5 separate regions of the Homo sapiens genome follow, and all the other regions are linked to region 4. The links are contacts of gene promoters, found by promoter capture Hi-C in blood cells and fetal thymus (Javierre and others, 2016). All regions are on one chromosome and are shown on one strand. Each heading gives the region's core, a stretch centred on a gene start or on the middle of the fragment in contact. The rest is flanking DNA. Distances are from core to core; before and after follow the strand shown.

Evidence for each region. Contacts are between HindIII fragments. The CHiCAGO score rates a contact against its expected background, and 5 or more counts as called.
Region 1: a fragment that was not itself captured here is called in contact with the fragment with the promoter of CYCS in region 4 in 1 of 17 cell types (fetal thymus); the score reaches 6.6 in fetal thymus.
Region 2: a contact is called between the fragment with the promoter of NUP42 here and the fragment with the promoter of CYCS in region 4, in 3 of 17 cell types (naive CD8 T cells, fetal thymus and total CD8 T cells). The highest score is 6.8, in naive CD8 T cells.
Region 3: a contact is called between a fragment that was not itself captured here and the fragment with the promoter of CYCS in region 4, in 3 of 17 cell types (monocytes, non-activated CD4 T cells and activated CD4 T cells). The highest score is 6.1, in monocytes.
Region 5: a fragment that was not itself captured here is called in contact with the fragment with the promoter of CYCS in region 4 in 1 of 17 cell types (naive CD4 T cells); the score reaches 5.7 in naive CD4 T cells.

Annotation. Positions count from the first base shown.
Region 1 is chr7:23,521,745-23,524,444 of GRCh38, forward strand. It overlaps TRA2A (transformer 2 alpha homolog), which reads right to left. Exons shown (of 8, transcript NM_013293.5): 2 at 1-96. Among named protein-coding and RNA genes, the nearest start is that of TRA2A, 8.9 kb to the right of the region's middle. The HindIII fragment of the contact is 539 bases long and covers 1,064-1,602 here.
Region 2 is chr7:23,180,728-23,183,427 of GRCh38, forward strand. NUP42 (nucleoporin 42) reads left to right here and starts at 1,321. Exons shown (of 7, transcript NM_007342.3): 1 at 1,321-1,479. The coding sequence starts at 1,359. RefSeq lists enhancers at 916-1,515, 1,616-1,685. The HindIII fragment of the contact is 4,881 bases long and covers 1-2,381 here.
Region 3 is chr7:23,597,993-23,600,692 of GRCh38, forward strand. It overlaps CCDC126 (coiled-coil domain containing 126), which reads left to right. Exons shown (of 4, transcript NM_138771.4): 2 at 1-59. Among named protein-coding and RNA genes, the nearest start is that of CCDC126, 2.0 kb to the left of the region's middle. The HindIII fragment of the contact is 2,451 bases long and covers 196-2,646 here.
Region 4 is chr7:25,124,010-25,126,709 of GRCh38, forward strand. It overlaps CYCS (cytochrome c, somatic), which reads right to left and starts at 1,251. Exons shown (of 3, transcript NM_018947.6): 1 at 1,191-1,251; 2 at 1-118. The coding sequence starts at 110. It also overlaps a transcript of SPMIP4 not described here. RefSeq lists enhancers at 176-720, 721-1,264, 1,412-1,661. The HindIII fragment of the contact is 6,168 bases long and covers 859-2,700 here.
Region 5 is chr7:23,540,284-23,542,983 of GRCh38, forward strand. No RefSeq gene overlaps it. Among named protein-coding and RNA genes, the nearest start is that of TRA2A, 9.7 kb to the left of the region's middle. The HindIII fragment of the contact is 3,051 bases long and covers 1-2,700 here.

The DNA.
Region 1 (2,700 bases), core at 83-2,582, 1.6 Mb before region 4:
TTTGGAAACCCTTGATGGACTACGAGATCCTGACCTGCTCTCCGATTTTACACGAGCAGGAGTTCCCGTTGGAGATTTTGACTGAGAGCGAGACTCCTAACAAAGAAGACAGTATTACAAATGGCACTGGTCATGTAGATGCCTAACACCTAACATTTAAAGTACCGTAATTATTTATATTGATTGCTCCTGAAAAACAAATGGTTAGACAACACCCTCCAGAAAAAATTTCAGCTCAATAATAACCCACTGTTAATACTGCTAACTGTCCTCAATAATTCCCTACTTGAACCAGATCACCAATTCTCTATTAACTAAGTAATCATGCAAATTCATCTACAACTTGATCATACAGACACTGGAACATAAACCATACATTTACTTAACCTAGGACCCATTCATTCTTCCAGATTCTTTTAATTCTACTTCACTCTTGCTTTCTACTTCTCTTCATTCTTCATTGAGTTTTTCATTTTTCATACTTCGTGTATTCTTCCCCAATTCAAACAATTCAAAATAGCCTTAAAAAAATATTCAAGTGCTTCTATCTGACCAATCTTCTGTTCAATTTTTTCCCCCATTCAATTTTAATTTTCTGATCTTTAATACTTTTCATTAGCCTTCTTTTATCTTGATTTATCTTCCACATTCTTGGAAAAAACTCTTCAATTTCTTCACGAACATTAACCTTAATGGAAAAAGAACATTTAGTATATTTAAGCACGTGGGGATTATAAAACTCTGCTGGAGTTCAGAATGTTATCTACCAAATGGAAAAGCCAGCAGGTAAAGTGCAAGTAACTAGTTTATTTAAAAAAAAAAAAAAAAAACAATTTTATAGTCTTTAAAATTGTTCAAAACTCTAGTTTCTAACAAAGAGAATTTACTAAATTTCTCTAAATGCTTTTTAAACCATACTCTTCACCCTCCTCCCATGTTTCATTCTAGTTCCTAAAATGTGAGCAATTTTAATATAATTCAAATATAAATCTAACAACTATAATTTCCCCCCACCTAAGTGTTAAATTTTCACTACTTTATAATCTGAAGATTCTTAAAAATAAGCTTTCACTAAGTCATGCTAAGAAATCAAGATATAGTTAGAGCAAGGCATCCCAGGCTGAAATATTTGTACACACCTATCTAAACTCACCCATAGCACATGTCAAGGTTCAAATAAGTCAAAAAGAAAAAAATCAGTAAAATTACACCTTCTCCCAACTTTGACTACTATCTTTGCTCATTCTGACTTAAAATATGTTCTGAAGACAAACATACCGAAAAAACTAATAAGCATGAAATTCTTAAAATTTCCCCATTAGCTTATTAATTCCTGATATACACATTTTTGCAACCAGATCACTTTAAAATGCTCTATTATCCACGACATACCACAATGTGCAAGAAGGTACAAAATTTATATCATAGTCTTTATCTTTGATTCCATCTCTTTAGAATTATGTTCAGTTTTTACATAATTTATGCATTTATGTATACTGGTACTCCCTTCAGTGACTATATTCTATATCCAAAAAGTGATGGGTTTCTGAAAAAATTGGGTGTAAATCAAAGCATTCCAAATAAAATAACTTACTGATCATAAGCTTGTTTTTTTTAACTGCACAGATATGAGGCACTTATGATCAAAACAGGATGGACAGCTTGGTTTCTGTGTCCAGTTAAGCCTTGATTATCAGTGTAAATAATTATCTCAATTTCACAGAAGTAATTTCACACCAATTTATTTATGCCTTAAGACTATCACACAACTCAAACAGCTTTCTGAAAACTTTTCCTTTGCTTCAAGTTTAATGTCAAGACTTATTTATCAAGAACTGTACAAATGCCACCTGGTCATTTTCTTTCAGATAAAAACAAAACTGAAATACACAGCTACCTTTCAGCTCAATACCAACCTTTCCCATTTAGCTACCTACAAGTCTTTCACTGCATCTCAGATACTCTAAACCACTCAACAGATGTCTGGAGCAGGCATAGCAATCTGGGCTTTTTCATTCACTGAAACTATGAAAGCAGCATATTCAGTATCTTATAAAAAAAGGCATGGCTAATTTGCTTGTAATTTAAGTTTCACAGACTGGTTCATTAATCAAACTCATAAGAGTATCTTCCCCTCTTCTCTTTTGGCTTTCCTTTCCACAAAACAGACCCTGTGACATAACATTCATTTATGCTACTGTTGAATAGCAATAGCTGGATTATTATCTACGAACGCTGCTACAGTCCTTCTCAAACATACACAGGAGGCTTTGCTCTGTAAAACACTACAATTCTTTAATTTTACTAGGATGGAAATAAAAACCTTTTATTAAAGTAAACAAGATAATTCAGTAACATCTTAAAATTCCAATTTTAAATCCCAGTTTTGGAGTAGCAACAAAGCATTATGGTATGATAGAATGTCTTTTTAAGAGATGTTAGCTTATTTATTTTAAGAAGGAGGAGTCTCATTCTGTCACCCAGGCTGGAGTGTAATGGTGCGATCTAGGCTCACTGCAACCTCCACCTCCTGGGTTCAAGTGATTCTCCTGCCTCAGCCTCCTGAGCAGCTGGGATTACAGGCATGCACCACCTTGCCTGGCTAATTTTTGTATTTTTAATAGAGATGGGGTTTTCCCATGTTGGCCAGGCTGGTCTCAAACTCCTGACCTCTAGTGATCTGCCCGCCTCAGCCTCCCA
Region 2 (2,700 bases), core at 71-2,570, 1.9 Mb before region 4:
CACTCCCAGCTCAATAATCCTAAAACCACCAGCACAAACCTGTAATCCAACAAAGTCAGATCTATTGACTTATTGCAATCAAGAAGACTGCACACCAGAGGAGCTGTGGTGTGTCTCACCGTACAAAATAAAAGGTAGTTATTGTATGTTTTGGCGGGGAGAGTGAAGTTTAGGTGAAATTTAAATGAAATCTCAAAGCATAGCTGTGTGTAAAGGCATTAACATCAGGTCTGGACGAGAATTGAATGTAGGGCATGTTTCCTTGGAAACTGCAAAGTTAAGAAAATACAGAATGTTTTCAGAACCGTTTATCTGAAGCTCTACACCTGGATAGAAATTGAGGCTGCTTCTCTGCGTCAAAGAGACTTAGATCCTCCAGGCAAGGATGGGACTTTTCACTCGTTCTGATATAATTTCAAATAGCAACGTTTATGTGGACTTGAAAGAACAAGGTTTCGGCCAGACGCGGTGGCTCACACCTGTAATCGCAGCACTTTGGGAGGCGGACGCGGGCGGATCACGAGGTCAGAAAATAGAGACCATCCTGGCTAACACGGTGAAACCGTGTCTACTAAAAATACAAAAAAATTAGCCGGGCGTGGTGGCGGGCACCTGTAGTCCCAGCTACTCGGGAGGCTGAGGCACGAGAACGGCATGAACCTTGGAGGCAGAGCTTGCCTCCAAGCTCTGCCACTGTACTCCAGCCTGGGCGACAGAGCGAGACTCCGTCTCAAAAAAAAAAAAAAAAAAGAAGAAATAACAAGGTTTCTCAGTGTGTAGTAAGAATGTACTTAAGTGGTAATACTTTTCCGTTGCAGCATGTCCTAAAAGAAACATTGTTTCCTCTTAACGTCGTCTGGCTTTATTTGACTCTGTTATCCATCCAGATGAAAGGCTAGGCAGTTTGTTACTTTCTCAGCCCAAGCTAAGTTTTACCGTCTCAGCAAGAACGACTCAGTCTCTCAAATCATAGCTAATTCTCCTCTGAGGGCCTTGCTGAAGTTCTGCGTTTGCTTGCTCCGCTTTCCTCTCATTTTGGACCTCCAGCCTTCCTGTAGTCCGAGGCCCTGCACCGGGGTCAAACGCGCCTCCGGTCTTCACGTAACCGTTCAAGCATCCCTCCTTCCCAGGACACACTCAAAGCGTCAGAGCGGTCCGCTCTTCTCAAGTCCTATTGGCTCAAGTCCATGCGTCTCATGGCACTGCCGGGTGAGAGGCGGAAAAAGGCCTTCCCAGGCGCGAGAAGATGACGTCACAGTAGCCCGGCCGGGCGCCGAGGTTGCCTTAGGGCTCTCTGCCCAGTAACAGGCATCGAACGGTGCAGACTGAAGACGCCCTCCGTCAGCGACGCCGTCGCAATGGCCATTTGTCAATTCTTCCTTCAAGGCCGGTGCCGCTTTGGAGATCGGTGCTGGAACGAACATCCCGGTGCTAGGGGTGCAGGAGGAGGACGGCAGCAACCGCAGCAGCAGCCTTCAGGTGACTCTCCTCTGAATCCTCCGCGGTAACCGAGCCGGGAAGGGTCCGCCGGCGGGGACCGGGCGTCCCGCGTGTTTCCCGCTGCTGGTGACCCCAACGTGCCCGCGTCGCGGCCTTGCCGGCCCTACTGGGCCCTGCACAACGTTTTTAAACCGAGGGTTTTATCTACATATTATTCATGTGGTCCGTTTTTATTGAGCTTCTGAGGACCTGGGTTTGGGCCTGGATGCTTGTGCGAAACTGAGTTTTTAAATCGGAAGTACCTATCGAAACTACCTTGTAGGTAAATGCCGGAATTGAATATAATTTTTACTAAGTTGTTTTTTCGAGGGTGAGGCTAGCAGCTTGGGTCAGAATCAGGACTTCATTTTGGAGAAGTCGTGGACTTCTTTGAAAAAATCTAATAAAACCGGCCGGGCGGTGGCTCACGCCTGTAATCCCAGCACTTTGGGAGGCCGAGGCGGGCGGATCACGAGGTCAGGAGTTTGAGACCAGCCTGACCAACATAGTGAAACACCGTCTTTACTAAAAATACCAAAAAAAAAAAAAAAAAAAAAAATAGCCGGGCGTGGTGGCGCGCGCCTGTAATCCCAGCTACTCATGAGGCTGAGACAGGAGAATCGCTTGAACCCGGGAGGTGGAGGTTGCAGTGGGCCGAGATCGTGCCACTGCACTCCAGCCTGGGCGACAGAGCGAGACTATCAAAAAAAAAAAAAGAAAGAAAGAAAAGAAAAAAAGAAAATCTAATAAAACCTATAGAGCCATACCGCAAAAATGCACCTGCTCATAAATTTGGGGTGAAATTGGGAATGTGGGACGCCCAGTTAAGGGCTATCCGGGAGGTGAGGAAAGGAGATGCGGGGGCCACGTTGATCTAGTCCCTGGGCCTAGATCATTGTCAAAGCTTTTTATCTTCAAGGAAAGGAGAGATTAGACATGAAACCTTAGAACAACACAAGATTTTTAAAGATCGGGTTAATAATTCGGTGCTGTCTCCCTTCCTTCCCCTCCTTTAGGGCTATTCATCTGACCTTTATTTTTTTATTTTATTTTGAGACGGAGTCTTGCTCTCTCAGTCAGGCGGCTCACTGCGACCTCCGCCTCCCAGGCTCAAGCGATTCTTATGCCTCAGTCTCCCGAGTAGCTGGGATTACGGGTGCCCGCCACCATGCCCTTGATAATTTTTGTATTTTTAGTAGAGACAGGGTTTTGCCATTTTGG
Region 3 (2,700 bases), core at 171-2,670, 1.5 Mb before region 4:
AGAGAAAGTCAGATGCCCCTTTTAAACTCCCTCTTCAAAACTCATCTCCTGGGTGACTGGTAAGGATGAACTTAAACTGCCGTGTTGATTGTTGACTGTGACGGTAATGAGAATGGCTCAGCCAGCTAGGGTTCGAATCCTGCCTGGGTTTCTCTCACTGCCTGCCTTGGTGATCTTGGTTACTTAAAGGCTCTAAGCTTGAGTTTTCTCATCCATCAAAACACACACCTGTAAGTGGTTAGAATTAGGAATATAGACCTATAACGTCATTAGTTCTTCATTTGATGAAAAGATCCTTTGTGATACTTTCATTAGCTATGACTGAAGTGACCGAAGTGGCCTCTGGACTTGAGTTTTGTGCTTTTGTTTGTTTAATCATCCTGGGTTGTGTGTTCTTCACTTTATCTTAAACCTAACCAAAGGATTCATTAAAATATGCCGTCTTCCTAATTTTTGCTGTTTTAAGATGGCTGAGAATGTTCTTAGGAAATTGATGACTCTGCTTTTCTGTGGATCAGCTTCAGAGGTACAAGTATTCACCTCTCCCCTCCCCCTCAGGTGTGTCCTTTGGGAATCCTTAGAGGCGCTAAGTGTTTGTTTCGTCAGAGTAGGCATCCAGGTATTTTACAGTCCTGCCTCTGGGCTTCACCATATTTAACCTGGGTCAACTTTTTTCTACATCTGTCTGCATCTTCTCACTGATTAATAATTTCTCACTCTAAAATGTGTTGCAAAAATACTTGTTTTGAGGAAAATGTTTCTATGTTGGTGTTATTTAGTGCAGTGTAGGACAGAGAGTAATGGCTACGGAAATAGGAGTCCTTAGTTTTGTCCTTGCTCTGTCACTATCTGTGTAACCTGAGATTACTTTGTGGTCCTCAATGTCCTCATCTCTAAAATAGTGAATTGGTCTGATTCCAAGGACTCTTCTAGCTCAGACTTTCAATGATAAAGGTTTTTAGAGGTTTTTTTTTAAATGTGGAAACAAAATTTGTGTAAACCCTTTTAGTCATTTGTGTTCTTAGTGTTTCTTCCTGCTTCAGGTCATATAATTCTTTCAAACTACCTTGAAAGAAGGAATACATTTAAGAGAACAAGAAAGCTGCCAGAAATAAGAATCTCTACCAGCCAGTTATCACTCTCTCATGAGCTGCACAGTTTCTCTGCATTTTTGACATGCTTTGTTCTCTTTCTCCCTACTCTGTATCTTTTGCTCATAGCCCCTATACCTGTTGTGCCTGATTCTTCATAACTTTAGCTTGTCAATCCCCTCATCCAACTTTATTATTTATTTTCATGACTTCTCCTTCAGCTCCTTCTGCCAACTGCCTGGTTTTCCCTGGGGCCTCTTTGTTTGAGGCCAGAGATGCTAGCCTAGTTGGCTTTGGAAGGGGAGGTGGGGACATGTGGCACAAAACATGATTGGCCACGGCTGTGACAGGTGAAGCTCTGTGATTGAAGTATCTAGTGCTGCATAGTGTGTGTCTATGTATATGTATATATATAGGTTTTGTTGTTTTTTTTTTTTGAGACAGAGTCTTACTCTGTCACCCAGGCTGTAGTGCAGTGGTGCTGGCTCACTGCAACTTCTACCTTTTGGGTTCAAGCAATTCTTGTACCTCATGCCTGGCTAATTTTTGTAGTTTTAGTAGAGACAGGGTCTCACCATGTTGGTCAGGCTGGTCTTGAACTTCTGACCTCAAGTGATCTGCCTATGTCAGCTTCCCAAATGGTGGGATTATAGGTGTGAGCCCTGGAGCCCGGCCTGCATAGTTTATTTTATTGCATATTTTAGTTTAGTTAGTTTAGTTTGAGACAGCCTTGCTCTTTCACTCAGCTTGGAGTGCAGTGGTGCGATCTCTGCACACTGCATCCTCTACCTCCCAGGTTCAAGCGATTCTTGTACCTCAGCCATCCAAGTAACTGGGTTTACAGGCATGCACCACCATGCCTGGCTAATTTTTGTATTTTTAGTAGAGATGGGGTTTCACCATGTTGACCAGACTGGTCTTGAATGCCTGACCTCAAGTGATCCGCCCTCTTCAGCCTCCCAAGGTGCTGGGATCACAGGCATGAGCCACCACGCCAGGCCATATTTTAAATTAAACTTTTACTGTAGCATAATGGTTAGTTTTCTTTTTGCCTTAACATTTTCTGTTTTTATCCCTGCCTCACTTTACCATTTTTCTTTTATCTGTTTTTGTAATATTCAGTGCTATTGTCTTCTATTCTGTCTCCCAAATGTGCCATCTAAAAATGATCTGATATCTTGACACTCATTATTTCCGTATCTTAGCTGGAATTTTAGTGTAGCTTCTCTCAAGGCAGTGCATTTTAAATCTTAGACCTTATTATGGAGCGAATGGCTGTGTTCTGTGTTAACCCCCCCCCCCCCACCACCATATTAGCCTCAGGCAGTGTTACATAGAGAAAATATTTTAGGAATGCCCCTTTTTCCCTGAAATTACATTCCGGGGTCAAGTCTGTGGAGGACTTTTTTTTGGGTCGTTTTTGGAGAGAACTATTTGAACCTCTGAGCTGTGGTGAACATACTGTGTCTTTTTGTAGTAAATCTATGCCTCTCTAGCTGAAATTCCTTTGGAGACTAATAGGCAGTAGTTCTTCTAGTACCTTTGGCTGAGTGAAAGCTTCTCTGCCTGCTAGTTGCTGCTATTGCTGTTGATAGTTACTTTAGCTATA
Region 4 (2,700 bases), core at 1-2,500:
AAGAGACCATGGAGATTTGGCCCAGTCTTGTGCTTGCCTCCCTTTTCAACGGTGTGGCACTGGGAACACTTCATAATAAAAATCTTCTTGCCTTTCTCAACATCACCCATATTTAATTCTAAAAACGAAAGCTTCAACTTAGTAAATTTTTCCTCAGGTAACAAATACAGTGTAAATGAATGACCACTCTAGCCACTTAATTACCAATCCATTGCTAATTTATGTCATTAAATACCAGAATGAATCTTGTTTTGCTTTAATACTCTTTATACCAAATATTCTTTAATACCAAAAACATTTTTAGGAGTACCTCCTCAAAAACGTATTTTTGTGTGTATACGTGAAGGAACGTTAAAGCCCAAGCAAAGAGGGAACCTAATTCAAACTCCAGTTTCAGAAGAGACAATCATGGTCACGAAGTCACAGATCTGAAGCTCAAGGGCGAACACATTAAGCCAAAATCACCACAACCGCAACTTTTAAAAAGACCTAACCATTTAATCTTACTACAATGTAAAGCCACCTCTCCCTGAGGATAACGCAAAGCACACAAATGTTTAAAAAGCGGTCCTGGCTGTTTCTATCTGCCCAGGTCACAGGAGTAGCTTGACACTCGAACTTGTGAATGGGAGCTCAGGGGCAGGCTGCACGGTCCCCCGGGGACATCCCAACTCCCCTACCTGTGATCTCCTGGGGCGACCACGAGGTCACCCGTCCAGGTCGGTTTCAAGGTGATTGATGAAACTCCTTCTAGGATGTCAGAACGACTGACGGAAGAAACATGTGCCCACGAAAAGAACTGGCCCCTTATTAGAAGAGCAACAGCTTTTGCCCTCTGAAGAAGAACGTGAAGCTCTAAGCTTCGGCTTTCCAGGAGGGAAGTCTTGCCTATCATTTCCATAGCCCTTCAGCAACCACTACGGAAGAGGCCGCCTCCTCCTCGGATCTGTATCCAAGCCGCCTCCAGTCCCTGACCGAGACCATACCTGTCCCTAGTTAGGGCTCCGCCGCACCTCAAGCCGTTACTCGCCCAGCTCGGTCTGACCACAGTCCAGGGTCTTCACTCCCCGCCCTCCCACCCAGCGCGGGCTCCACTCGAATGCTCCCCGCTTGGGTTTCGGTCGCTCGCAAGTGCGCGCCTCCCACAGCTCTGCCTCTAACCAGGTGCGGCCTCCGCGACCCGCTCTCACCTCTTTTTAGTCGCTGGCACAACGAACACTCCCGCTCCGAAGCCGGACGTCCCCACTCTCTAAGTCCAAGGACACGCCGGTCCGCGCTTAAGTACCGGTGTAAGTGCAACCAAACTCGCTCCGCGCTCCCGCGCCCTGACGTGCGGCCGAGCTGGCGGCTACGCAGTAACGTCGCCGCACCTCATTGGCTCCAGTCCCAATGCCTGCGCCAAGGACCTGCGCGCGCATGCTGGCGAGCATGTTAGGGTGTACGGCGTGCGTGCCCTTCTTCTCGAGGCTTTTCCCGGCCGTTACGACAGGCCTTTGGTCGTACGACAACGAGGTGGTGTCGGGAGAGGTGACGTCACTCGCGGGCCTCTGTGCGCTTGCGTGTGCTGGAGGAGCGGGGAGGGTGGGGCGGAGTCGCTTGGTTGGTGCGTTGCCCTGCTAAAGTATCAGTTCTTGGGCGTGGTGATGTAATGAGCTTTGAGCAGGGCGTTTTGCCGGTCCAGGAAAAGACGCCCTAATTTTGGCGCACCTAGAGGTCTCCTAGCTACCATCTTGTCAGCAGGCGACCTTTACCCAGACTCTGTCCTACTACCACGGCTGGCGCCAACAGCATCCTAGAGGGACAGCCTGGAACCAGGAGTTACACGAGTTGGGCACCAGCTCGTGACCTTGTTCTAGTTCCACCTATACTCTGTTACTTTCAGTCACATTCCAGCTCTCCGCTTGATGGACGCCCCAAGACTGAGGAAGGTGCTGCATTTGCGGCAGAGACAGGATTATCCCTCTGGAACTGAAAAATAAAATTAAGAGGATGCAATGATAACATTTATGTACCTTTTAAAATTTTTATGAGTACGAAGTAGGTAAATATATATATATACTTAAGAGGTACATGAGATATTTTGATACAGGCATACAATGTATAATAATCACATCAGGGTAAACGGTCTATCCATCACCTCAAGCATTTATCCTTTTTTTCTGTTACAAGCAATCCAATTATACTTTTAGTTTGTTTAATGTACAATAAATTATTGTTGAGTGTAGTCACCCTGTTGTATTACTAGACCTTATTCATTCTTCTTCAGTGGCGCCATTTAATGTCTCAGCCCCCCAAGTAGCTGGGACTACGGGAGCAAACCACCACGCCCAGCTAATTTTTGTATTTTTAGTAGAGATGGGGTTTCACTATTTGGTCAGGCTGGTCTCGAACTCCTGACCTCAGGTGATTCACCCGCATCGGCCTCCCAAAGTGCTGGGATTACAGGTGTGAGCCACCACGCCCAGGGCAAATAATATTTTATAACCCATTGTTTTAAACTGATGACAACATAACATTGATTGCATAAACAAAAATCAAAGAGAAAACTAAGAAAAACTCTGCACTTTAACTTCACTCTCCCCACTTTTAAAACTTTTTCTTGTTTCTATTTATATATTATTATACTATGTCTTGAAAAGTTGTTATAGCTATTATTTTTGATAAGTTAGGTTAATCTCTAAGTCTTTCTACTCAAGATAT
Region 5 (2,700 bases), core at 71-2,570, 1.6 Mb before region 4:
CCTTTCACTTGACCCAAGGCAGGACTCAATACTATTCCCCTGCCTTTCTGATTGTGGGTCATAAGACCCTCATTCCAGAGAGGCCAATCACATTTCCAAATAATTGTCCATAAAAACCCAGGAGGACTGGGTTCACAGAGTTTTCAGATAGCTAATACTTGGAGGTTCCTGGAGGGTGGCTTGCCCAGGGAGGGCATGGAAGCTCCACACCCCTTCCCCCATACCATATATTTTGTAATGTTTCTTTGAGTTTTGTGAGCTGCTCCAGCAAATTTATTAAACCCAAAGTGGTGGATGTGGGAATGCCCAAAGCACTAGGGTTATAGGCATGAGCTATCTCTTCTTTTTAATATTATTACTGTTATTTTTTGAGACAGAGTCTGGCTCTGTCTCCCAGGCTGGAGTGCAGTGGCACAGTCTCTGCTAACTGCAACTTCTCCTCCTGGGTTCAAGTTATTCTCGTGCCTCAGCCTCCCGAGTAGCTGGGATTACAGGCGCCTGCCACCATGCCCAACTAATGTTTGTATTTTTGGTAGAGACAGGGTTTCGCCATGTTGGCCAGGCTGGTGTCAAACTCCTGACCTCTAGTGACCCACCCCTGGCCTCGGCCTCTCAAAGTGCTGAGATTACAGGCATGAGCTGTTGTGCTCGGCCAAAAATATATTTTGTGGCCTCCCCAGTACCTCAAGCCTGTAATCTCAGCACTTTGCAAAGCTGAGGTGGGAGGACTGCTTGAGCCCAGGAGTTTGAGACCTGGGCAACAAAGTGGGACCCTGTCTCTAAAAAATTTAAAAAATTAGCTAGGTGTGGTGGTGCATGCCTGTGTCCCCACTACACAGGAGGCTGAGGCAGAAGGATCACTTGAGCACAGGAGGTCAAGGCTGCAGTGAGCAGTATTTGTGCCACTGCACTTCAGCCTGGGTGACAGAGCAAGACACTGTCTTAAAAGAAAAAAAACAACCAACCAACAAACATTTTATCACCTCAAGCACTCAGAGTAGAACACAACAAAATTAACCCATAGCATTTAGCCAGTTCTTAGGAACTAGATCTCAACACTGAAAGAGAGAAAGATCAACCACATTCAAAGAGAAGATAGGTAAATTAGAACATCAAAATTTACAACTTTTGTGCATTAAAGGATAATATCAACAGAGAGAAAAAACAATCCACTGAAAAGGAGAAATATTTAGAAATCATATGTCTAATAAGGGTCTAGTATTTAGAGTAAATAAATAACGCTTACAGTTTAAGAAAAAACAAGCGGCTTGGCGCAGTGGCTCACGCCTGTAATCCCAGCACTTTGGGAGGCTGAGGCGGGCAGATCACAACGTCAGGAGATCGAGACCATCCTGGCTAACATGGTGAAACCCTGTCTCTACTAAAAATACACAAAAATTAGCCGGGCATGGTGGCGGGCACCTGTAGTCCCAGCTACTCAGGAGGCTGAAGCAGGAGAATGGCGTGAACCCGGGAGGCGGAGACTGCAGTGAGCCTTGATCGCGCCACTGCACTCCAGCCTGGGCGACAGAGCAAGATTCCGTCTCAAAAAAAGAAAAGCAAAAACAAGCCTGGGCAACATAGTGAGACCCCTTCTCTATTAAAAAATTTACTTATTAATTATTTATTATATTATTATTTATTTTATTTTTTATAGAGACAGGGTCTTACTATATTTCTCAGGCTAATCTCAAACTTCTGGCCTGAAGTGATCCTCCTATCTTCGCCTCCCAAAGTGCTGTGATTACAGTCATGAGCCACCATACCCAGGCTATATCTCTTCCGTAGGGAGAAATCTACTGAAGTCCTTTGTTCATTTTCTAATTGTTGGTTTTTTTTTTCATTTTTTATTTAATTTTAAAAAATTGTTAGCTTTTGTTGCTGTAAAATTTTTTTTTCTTAGTTTCTTGTTTTGTTTTTGTTTTTTGGTGTTTTGGGGGCACAGGGGCTTGCTCTGTCACCTCATAGCCCACTGCAGCCTACAACTCCTGGCCTCAAGCAATCCTCCCACCTCAGCCTCCCAAAGTGCTAGAATTATATATATATATATTTTTGTAATTAGCTGGGTATGTTGGTGTGGGTCTATAATCCTAGCTACTGTGGGAGGCTGAGGTAGGGGGATGGCTTGGGCCCAGGAATTGGAGGCTGCAGTGAGCTACAGTGGCAGCACTGCACTCCAGCCTGGGTGACAGAAGGAGACCCTGTCTCTAAAAAAAAAAAAAAAGCAAGATGATATATAAATGGCAAATGAACATATGAAAAGATGCTCAACACCATGAGTCTTAGAGAAATGCAAATTAAAACCACAATGAGATACCACTTTACACCTACTAAGATGGCTACTATAACGTTGAAAAAAGAACAATCAATGACAGGTATTGAAAAGGATATGGAGAAATTGGAATCTTCATACACTGCTAGTGGGAATGTAAACTGGTGCACCTTCTCTGGAAAGCAGATGGGCAGTTCCTCAAAAACTTAAACAGAGAATTACTGTATGACCCAGCAATCCCATTCCTAGGTATATACCGAAGGGAAACATATGTTTGTTCACATGAAAACTTGTATGCAAATGTATATAGCAGCATTGTTCATGATAGCCAAAAAGTTGAAATATTTCAAATGTTTATCAGTTGATGCATGGATAAAAAACTGTGGTATGTCCATACAATGAAATACTATTTAGTCATAAAAAGGAAT